2 separate regions of the Homo sapiens genome follow, and region 1 is linked to region 2. Evidence: promoter capture Hi-C in 16 types of primary human blood cells and fetal thymus (Javierre and others, 2016). All regions are on one chromosome and are shown on one strand. The core of a region is centred on a gene start or on the middle of the fragment in contact, and the rest is flanking DNA. Distances in the headings are between cores, read along the strand shown.

Region 1 (5,206 bases), core at 527-3,026, 1.8 Mb before region 2:
AAGCCCATGCTCTTTCTCTGGTTAAACCAAGGGTCTTTCAATGCCATGAACAATGCTTGCAAACCAAATGTAGTATTTGGTCCCACAAATTACTGTATCTGCTTACTGTCAGATATAATAAACATCTTATCATAACTCTAGATACTACTTTAACCTATTTGGTTTGTGCTTTATTGACAGCATCAACTCTAAAACATAATCTCTTCTTGAAAATATATGAAATTTACCTACAGCCATCTGACCTTCGACAAAGTAGACAAAAATAAGCAATAGGAAAAGGACTCCCTATTCAAAAAATGGTGCAAGGATAGTTGGCTAGCCATATGCAGAAGAATCAAACTGGATACCTTCCTCTCATCATATGCAAAAATTAACTCAAAATTTAAAAGATTTAAATGTAAAACCTCAAGCTATAAGAATCCTAGAAGAAAACCTAGGAAACACCATTCTGAACATTGACCTCAGAAAAGAATTTATGACTAAGTCCTCAAAAGCAATTGCAACAAAAACAAAAATTGGTAGGTGGGACCTAATGACACTAAATAGTTTTTGCACAGCCAGTGAAACTATCAACAGAGTAAACAGATAACCTATGGAATGGGAGAATATATTCCCAAACCATACATTTGACAAAGGTCTAATATCCATAATCTATAAGGAATTTAACAAGCAAAAAAAAAAAAAAAAAAAAAAAAAACCATTTAAAAATGGGTAAAAGACATGAACAGTCATTTCTCAAAAGAAGTCACAAAAGTGGCCTACAAACATGAAAAAAATGCTTATGTCACTAATCATCAGAGAAATGCAAATGAAAACCACAATGAGATACCATCTCACAGCAGTAAGAATGGCTACAATTAAAACGTCAAAACACAACAGGTGCTGGCGAGGCTGCTGAGAAAGGGGAACACTTACACATTGTTGGTGGGAATCCAAATTAATTCAGCCACTGTGGGAAGCAGTTTGGAGATTTCTCAAAAAACTTAAACTAGAACTACCATTTGACCTAGCAATCGCATTACTGGGTTTATATACAAAAGAAAGCAAATCATTCTCCCGAAAAGACACATGCAGTCATATGTTCATTGCAACACAATTCCACAATAGCAAAGGCATGAAATCATCCTAGGTGTCCATAAATGGTGAAATGTATAAAGAAAATGTGGTACATATACACCATGGAATACCACGCAGTTCTAAGAGAATGAATTCATGTCCTTTGCAACAACATAGATGCAGCTGGAGGCTATTATTCTAAGTGAATTAGCACAGGAAAAAAAAAAAAAAAAACAAATACCACATGTTCTCACTTGTAAGTGGGAGCTAAATATTGGGTACTCAGGGACATAAAGATGGTAACAACAGAAATGGGAAATACTAGAAAGGGGAGGGAGTAAGGGAAGAAAAGGTTGAAAAAGTGTTGAGTACTATGCTCACTACCTGGGTGATGGGATCATTTGATCACCCCAAACTTCAGTATCATGCAGCACACCCAGGTAACAAACCTGCACATGCACTCCCTGAATCTAAAGTAAAAGCTGAAAAAGAAGAAAATAGGTGTGAAACAGATTATAATTTCTTATGGCAACAGACAATCTCATTAAACATCAGATCCAATAATTCATTTTTAAAATTCTAATTAGGTATTAATCTACACACTTTAGAAAGAGGCCAGGAAATTAAATTAGTTTTAAAATTTAACAACGAAATAATTATAAATAGTATGTGTACCCTATTTTGCAAACAAAATAAAATTATCATTTTATTCAAATGGTAATACCACTTGTGATTGTCAAATAAATGTTTCTTCTCAGTGACATTACCATTTGAATCAAAATGATTATTCAGTGAATTCGCAATCTTCACTCAGTCTCCATTTTTAGTTTGTTGGATTAAAAAAATGCTTCAAGGCTTTAAATCCTTCCAATGTAGTAGACATCAATGTTTTTTCAGTACAATAAGATTTTTCATTATAATTGTTACTTCACTATTTCACCTGTTTAAAATTAATATCTAATATGAGTATATATATATAAATAATTATTTATGCTAGGACTTAACTACTTCTGAAGTACTTTTTTTCCTACAATAAAATAAAACTGCTTCCCATGGAAGAACTTGTCCTGTGATTCTCTATGAATGACAGAATGAACATACATGTACTAGCATCAGGAAAAACTCAAATTGCCAGTGAATTAACTCGTTGAACTCATTGTTCTGTGTTGCTTTACTCTGACAGACAGTGTATGTTTCTACCTTAAACTATGTCATGTGGTCAGAACAAGACATGAAAATAAAGATCTAGTCTAAGGCCCAGCCTATAAAACATCAGAAAATAAAACAATATGGACGAATGTAATTCAAAAGTTTCTATAAAATTTGTTTCATCTCTGTAATTCTCTTTCATTTTATTTGCTTTTTAGAAATTTCAAGTTAAGGAAATTCAGTTGTACTTGTTTCTGGCATGTGGGCATTCCTCTAAAGATGCGATAAACAGAAAAACAAAGTCTGCCATAACCATTCAAAGCAGGAAAGGGCAACCTCGAAAAACATACTTATAATGATATTGATGCATATTTTAATAGAAAAATAAAACTTATTTTAGGGAAATCTCTGTTCTGTTCTAAAAAATTCCCTCTTTGTGAACCCTTGAATATTTAAAAACATTTAAGAAATTGACCCCTCCATTTATATTTTAATAAGAACCTTATGGCTTATATTTATATCATCTGTTCATTAAATAGGTCATCACTTTTAAGAAGCCAAATATTTCAGTTACTCCTGGCTGCAGAGCAGTCATTTTAAGTCTATAAAAGAAAATACAGGAAAAAAAAAAAGAATTAGTATCTCTGGGTGTCAAGATTAACTTAAAGTTTCTCCCTAGACATTATGTCAACAGATCTTCTTCCCTTCCTTCAATAGAAGCAGTAAGAAGAATTTCATGAGCCTATAAATTTATTACCCCTAGAGATGTAAAAAATGGATTAAAACTCTTCAAATTCCTTCACACCCTTCCCTATTGTTGGAGATACAGACAAAGCAGTGATGACTTATAATGACAATGTGTTTATTAAGAAGAGAGAGAATGGTGGTATAAAAGTTAGATATGGAAAGTGTGGAGCAGGTATAGCTTAAGCTCTATGGGCATAATTATCTTAATTGAGCAATGCACTAGAAAATGATTATCTAATTCACTGGTTCTCAGCCATGGTTACACATTAAAATCACCTGGAATGATTTTTTTTAAGAAAACACCCAAGCCTGAGCCCAAGTCTGAGCACAAGTACTGAGGCTTCTGACTAATTTATTGTCAGTTGAAGCCTGATATGGTTTATCTCTGTGTCCCCACCCAAATGTCATGTTGAATTGTAATTCCCAATGTTGGGGGAGAAACCTGGTTGGAGGTGATGTGATCATGAGGATGGATTTCCCCCTTGGCTGTTCTCATGATAATGAGAGCATTCTCAGGAAATCTATTGTTTTAAAGTGTGTGGCACTTCCCCTTTTGCTCACCCTTTCTTCCTCCTGCTCCACTATGTGAAGATTGTGCCTGCTTCTCATTCACCTTCAGCCATGACTGTAAGTTTGCTGAGGCCTCCCCAGCCATCCCTCCTGTACAGTCTATGGAACTGTGAGTCCATTAAACTTCTTTTCTTTATAAATTACCCAGTCTCAGGTAGTTCTTTATGGCAGTGTGAGAATGGACTAATAGAAAGCCTAATATTCAATGTGTAAATTACCCACTCCCCACACCTGGTGTTTGTAATGGACAGCTAGGAATAAGAATCACTGCTCTTAATTTTGATAAACTGTTCAAGTCATAATATTGCTCCAATTTGTAGGGAAAATTTACAAGGTTTGATTTATCTTCTTGATTGCTACAGAATATTTTTCACTCATTTAGATTGACCACCTATCCGTGTGGCTTACCTAAAAGATGTTGAAAGTATATCAAGCCCAACAGGAAGGAAGAATTAGGAATATAAATGATGGTTTATAGATGAGGCAGTTGATTGTTTCATTTACCTTTGTGAAGAGTGATGAAGGAATGGAGACGTTACTTTAACTTAATAGAGACACATTTTGTTTAATTATAAATTATGTGTCTTATGGAAGAAAGATAAATTAGAAAACCAAAAGAATTTTTGCCAATATTGAAACTCAATTGAAGAGATAGTTATGAAGTAACCTGGGCAAATGATTTAGGACAATAGAATCATTTTTTTGGAAAAATGTTTTTATATCTTCAACTATTATAGGTGTTCTTTGGCATGGTGGAGGAATATACTGATCACAGTGAAGATCCCAGGATGATATTAAGGGTTTCCTGACAAAAACTCTTGTCACAATAGCCCATTTTCTTGGTGATTTATGAGATTATAGAAGTTGTTGCTCCCTAATGTCATTTGACCTTGTACAGGGTCAGGTCATCTCTTTCATTGTCTAATTACTCTTAACTACATTTTTTGTCATTTTTGTTGCAATGTTTTGAACAATCTGAAGATGGAAAAAATAAATTTAGAATTTCAGGGAAGACATCTTTGGCAAGATGGGCATTGTATAAATATATGTAGTGTGTGTGATTTTAGAAAATAAAACTTTTCACCAATGGTGGAGGGAATCTCCCAAAGTACAGTGAGTAGAATTTGAATTTAACATCATACTTTTGTTTTCCTTGATGAAAATCTAGACCTATCCAACTTAAGTCTCAGGAATTAAAACCTTTACTGTATGTTTACTCTGTCTTGCAAATCATTGTTGCACTTTTTAAAACTTTGAAATAATTTATTTTTATTCATCAGGTGCAGATGAGGTGATGTAATTGCAGAATTTATTGATAAACTATTGAAATAGCAGCTTTGCTCCAATAACCTTCAACATTTCTTAGAGTTATGTTTTGCTTTATGCTAGTATGTAGGTTTTCAAAATCGCTAACACTTTCGTTGTTTGTGTGTGATTTCTAGGCCAATGGATCTGCTAAAAAAGCTTTCCAGACTTCCATTTTTTTCAAGTACCTTTACGATTTCATTTTTAAATGTTTATTTTGAATTAAGATGTGGGTAAAAAATTTAACCTCTATTTCCCACTGATAATGACATGACAATATTTCATAGACTAAATTACCTGTCTATTGATCTATTGTTAACTTCTAGGAGAGCCATTAATTTCTTTTTTGTATAAAAGACTTATAATCACTATAGTTTCA
Region 2 (4,732 bases), core at 1,785-4,284:
AGGGTAGGAATGCCTTAATTTAGAACCAGTAGAATATTACAAAAAATACATAGCATGTGGGAGAGACTATGGGAGATACGAAAGCCAGGAAAGGAAAGATACAAATGGAATTTAAACTTTATCTTATGGGCATCAGACAACTATTCTTGAACAGAAAAAGTGACATATGAAAAAAATACTACAGGAAAATTACTGATTACCTGTATTTACTGTAGAGGGGGATATGGGGAAAGAGTAAGGTTATCTTGGAGACTGCAGAAGAACAGTACATTGGAAAATTAGTATGGCGGAGGAAACAATACCCCTTTAAAGAAGAAAAGTAAAGAAACTGGAGAGTTCAATGATGCTGAAATAGGAGGAACATGAAAATAGATTAGAGGAGGCAGGGAGGAAATAGTGACCTGAAGAACAGATGCTGGAAGAGCCATATAAGAATGATAATAGGCAAAAGTAAAACCAGAAGTTCTTTACTTTTATAGCCATCTTCTGCTTTACTTTTTAGGGAAGCTTGAAAATATACTCTGCTTTGCTTATTCCAGTTAACAACTAATACTAGCTACATTTCTCAAAGTGAGTATCCAGATGGCTCAGCTATTTTAAAAGATACTGATAATCTCAAAATAAGTTTTCAGAAATAAAAATCACCATCTGACTTAACTTTTGCACTGCAAAAGATTCGTTTAACAAATACTGAACAGTTGATCTGCTGGCACTGTTCTAGCATTAGGGTATACAACAAAGGAGTGCTTGCTGTCATGGAGCTTATGTTCTATCTAGACGCAGATGACTAACATGCAGTGTGACTAGACATCCTGGTTTGCCCAGGATTGAGGGATTTCCTGGGATGCAGGACTTCCAGTGCTAAGCCTGGGAAATCAGTGACAACAAATGCTAGTGGTAGCTGATCTCCCAATGATCCCCTAAAACCACCCTGCCCCCCACTTCCCACTTCCTGGTATTCATGCCCTTATGTTAACCCTTCTCACATTAAATAGGGCTGACCTGCAAAAGTAACAACACATTGTGGAAACGACTGTGTGACTTCCAATGCTAGGTCTATGAATTTCATGTGGCTCTCTGCTGCACTCAAGCAGCCCTATGGAGAGGCCTACTTGTCAAGGAACCAAAACCTCTTGCTATCAGCTATGTAAATGAACCATCTTTAAGGGAGACTCTCCAGCCACAGTCAAATACAGTCAGATCTTCAGATGATTTTAGCCCTGGACAGCATGTTCACTGCAACCTCTTAGGAGATCTTAGTCAGAACCACCCAGCTGAGTCACTCAAATACCTGACATACAGAAACTGAAATAAAGCTTGATGCTAAATTTGGGGGTAATTTAATACAGAGTAGTAGATAACTAATACAGTACTGGAGAAAAGTTATGCCTGGTAAGGACTTAGGAAGGTAGGCACTATTTTTGGTAAGTGGATTTGGATAAGCCTCTCTTACAAAGGCATTTGGGCAGAGATCCAAAAAATAAGGAAGCAAGCCAGCAAAAGGATGTTCCAAGCAGAAGAGTAATGGATTTCTGACTTTCTGACTTAGTACCAACTAAAGTGCTTGTTAGAAGAACATCAAATGTGTCATTGCGACTCAAGTAGGGTGAGCAGGGTAGAGAAGGGGGTGTGGCAGGACCTCAGAGGGAGGGGTAGAGCCTCGGAGAATAGAAAGTAAGGTGTTTGAATTTGATTGAGTCAAGGGAAGGCACTGGAAGGTTTTTTAAAGCGCCATCTTCTTTTGGTTTTCTCTTGGCAGCCTGGATTCTGAGCATGCAACATTCGACTCTAACAAGGCTGACTCTGGTTCAACCAGGCTGTGTGGATGAAATCTACGACCTCCCCAAGCATTTGAAGTTCATGTTTTCTTTTTCTTTTGAGATGGAATCTTGCTCTGTTGCCCAGGCTGGAGTGCAGTGGCGCGATCTCGGCTCACCACAACCTCCGCCTCCCGGGTTCAAGCGATTCTCCTGCCTCAACCTCCCAAGTAGCTGGGATTACAGGTCTGCGCCACTGCGCCGGGACTAATTTTTGTATTTTTTAGCAGAGACTGGGTTTCGCCATGTTGGCCAGGCTGGTCTTGAACCCCTGACCTCAGATGATCCGCCCGCCTCGGCCTCGCAAAGTGCTGGGATTACGGGCGTGAGCCACCGCGCCTGGCCTGAAGTTCTTTTCTACAGAACTTTGCTGTCCTATATACATGAGGGTACACAGCCAACTGGGCACCTGGCACGGGTCTAGTCCAAATTGAGATGGGCTGTTAACTCTAAAACACACACTGGATTTCCAAGACTTAGAACCAACGACAGAGCGTAAAAGATCTAATTAATTCTTTTAGACTGATTACATGCTGAAATGACAGGATGGGCTAAATTAAACACATTAAAAGCAGTTTCACCGATTTCTCTTTACTCTTTAAAAATGTGGCTGCTATTAGAATTACCTACGTGGCTTGGACTGTGTGTCTACAGGGAGCTCCTCTCGCGCACTCTGTGCACTCAAATTCCGCCGGTGTCCTCCGCCGGAAGGGCCGCCTCAGAAAGGCCGAGCCCCCGGCCTGGCTTCTCCGGTTTCCCGGGAAAGCGTTGCAACCACGGGCGAGGGCTCCGAGGTCGGCCCCGAGGGGTAAGGGCAGCCCTTGCCTTCGCGACATCCATTCACCCGGCTCCGCAGGTGCAGCGCGCGGTCCTCAGAGAAACCCCGACCCTCGCGTCGCTGACCCGACCATTCATTAATCGGGGGCTTCCCAGGGCCCAGGAGCAGCCTCGGGCGCCCCACTCCCCCATTCTCGCGTAGCCGTCCCCTTGACCGCGTCACACCGAGCGGCACAACCACCAGGGAAGGTAACTGGGAGGGCGCGACCTCCCTCAATCAACAGCCACCTCGGGCTGACTGAGCGGACCCAGGTCCCTTTCAGCCACAGCGTTCCCTCGGCTTCCTGGGCCTCACGGCGGCGGAGGCGTGGCCACAGCCTGAGAGGCGGGTTTCCTGTCCAGTTGTGAATAACTTCCGACGTGTGCCGGAAGTTTCCTCAGTGACAATCAGGAAGTCGGCGTGTCGAGTGGCTCTTCCTGGCTGCTGAGGCGGGTTAAGGTCTGAGGGTCTTGTGGGGCCACGGCGCTGATCACCAGGTGTTTGGCTTGGTCGGTTCTTATTTCTCGCCTGGCAATGGCGACGTACACCTGCATAACTTGCCGGGTGGCGTTCCGCGACGCGGACATGCAGCGGGCCCACTATAAGACGGACTGGCACCGCTACAACCTGCGGCGGAAGGTGGCCAGCATGGCCCCAGTGACCGCCGAGGGCTTCCAGGAGCGAGTGCGGGCGCAGCGGGCCGTCGCGGAGGAGGAGAGCAAGGGCTCGGCCACCTACTGCACCGTTTGCAGTAAGAAGTTTGCCTCTTTCAACGCCTACGAGAACCACCTCAAGTCCCGGCGTCACGTTGAGCTGGAGAAGAAGGCCGTGCAGGCAGTGAATCGGAAAGTGGAGATGATGAATGAAAAGAACTTGGAGAAAGGACTGGGCGTGGACAGTGTGGACAAGGATGCCATGAACGCGGCCATCCAGCAGGCCATCAAGGCCCAGCCGTCCATGTCTCCCAAGAAGGCGCCCCCAGCGCCTGCAAAGGAGGCCAGGAATGTCGTGGCCGTGGGTACTGGTGGCCGTGGGACCCACGACCGAGACCCGAGTGAGAAACCACCCCGGCTCCAGTGGTTTGAACAGCAGGCGAAGAAGTTGGCAAAGCAGCAGGAGGAGGACAGCGAGGAGGAGGAAGAGGACCTGGATGGAGACGGTGATGGCCCTGTCTGGGCGGGGAGGGTAAAGAGGAACTTGGCCCACCCTTAAGTTTCCAGATTTATACTCGAGATGGGTGTGTGTGTGTGTTTGAGAGCTTTTAAGTAAAAATGATGAGGGAAGGTGGTTTAGACGCTTTCTGAAGTGCCTTATCTGGCCAGCAGGTTTGGCTGTTTAGTTCACTCAATTCATTCTCCAAGGCCTAAAACCTTGTCTGGAAAAAGAAGTGCTTAATGCATATTTGGAGAATGAATTGATGCCTTCTGTGTTTTGGATGAAGAGGCTTTTAACATATGCACAGGAGGACATGCTATCGTCATACCAGCTGCCGTGTAATTTGCGATTCTAGTGGGTTTCCAGTTATGATGGTTTTGCACTTAATTTAGTTGAGTAAAACAGAATGAGGGGATCAAAACCAACTCAGCCAGAAATTTGGAGCTGGAGCCAGCACCCTCACCTCTTTGCCTTTATGAGCTATTTATTCCTTACTTCCCTCATCCCACATCCTATTAACAGTGCTGGTGTAGGTGTTCATGTCTTAGTCTGTCCACTCTGCTATAAGGAAGTACTAGAGACTGGGTGATTTATGAACAACATAAATGTATTTTCCCATAGTTCTGGAAATTGGGAAGTCCAAAATCAAGGTGCTGGCAGAGTCAGTGTCTGGTGAGGGCCTGTTCTATAGATGAAGTTTTCTCATGGTGTCATCATGTGGTGGAAGAAGCAGAAGGCAAAAAAGGGGCTAGCCAGTTCCCTCGCACTAATCCATTTATTCAGGATTAGTGCTTGCCTAACCTAATCACCCACTAAAGGCCCCACCTCTTAATGCCATTTCATTGATGATTAAGTTTCAACATTTGAATTTTGGGAGGGAAACATGCATTCAAACCATAGCCGTTCATAGAGCACCCTACCAGCACATACACACACCCCATAG

The links. Contacts are between HindIII fragments. The CHiCAGO score rates a contact against its expected background, and 5 or more counts as called.
Region 1: a contact is called between a fragment that was not itself captured here and the fragment with the promoter of ZNF622 in region 2, in 1 of 17 cell types (naive B cells). The highest score is 5.4, in naive B cells.

Annotation. Positions count from the first base shown.
Region 1 is chr5:18,297,650-18,302,855 of GRCh38, reverse strand. No RefSeq gene overlaps it. Among named protein-coding and RNA genes, the nearest start is that of LINC02100, 450 kb to the left of the region's middle. The HindIII fragment of the contact is 6,425 bases long and covers 1-4,988 here.
Region 2 is chr5:16,464,102-16,468,833 of GRCh38, reverse strand. ZNF622 (zinc finger protein 622) reads left to right here and starts at 3,034. Exons shown (of 6, transcript NM_033414.3): 1 at 3,034-3,793. The coding sequence starts at 3,169. RefSeq lists enhancers at 1,195-1,284, 1,315-1,374, 3,657-3,726 and a silencer at 1,627-1,849. The HindIII fragment of the contact is 4,211 bases long and covers 1,319-4,732 here.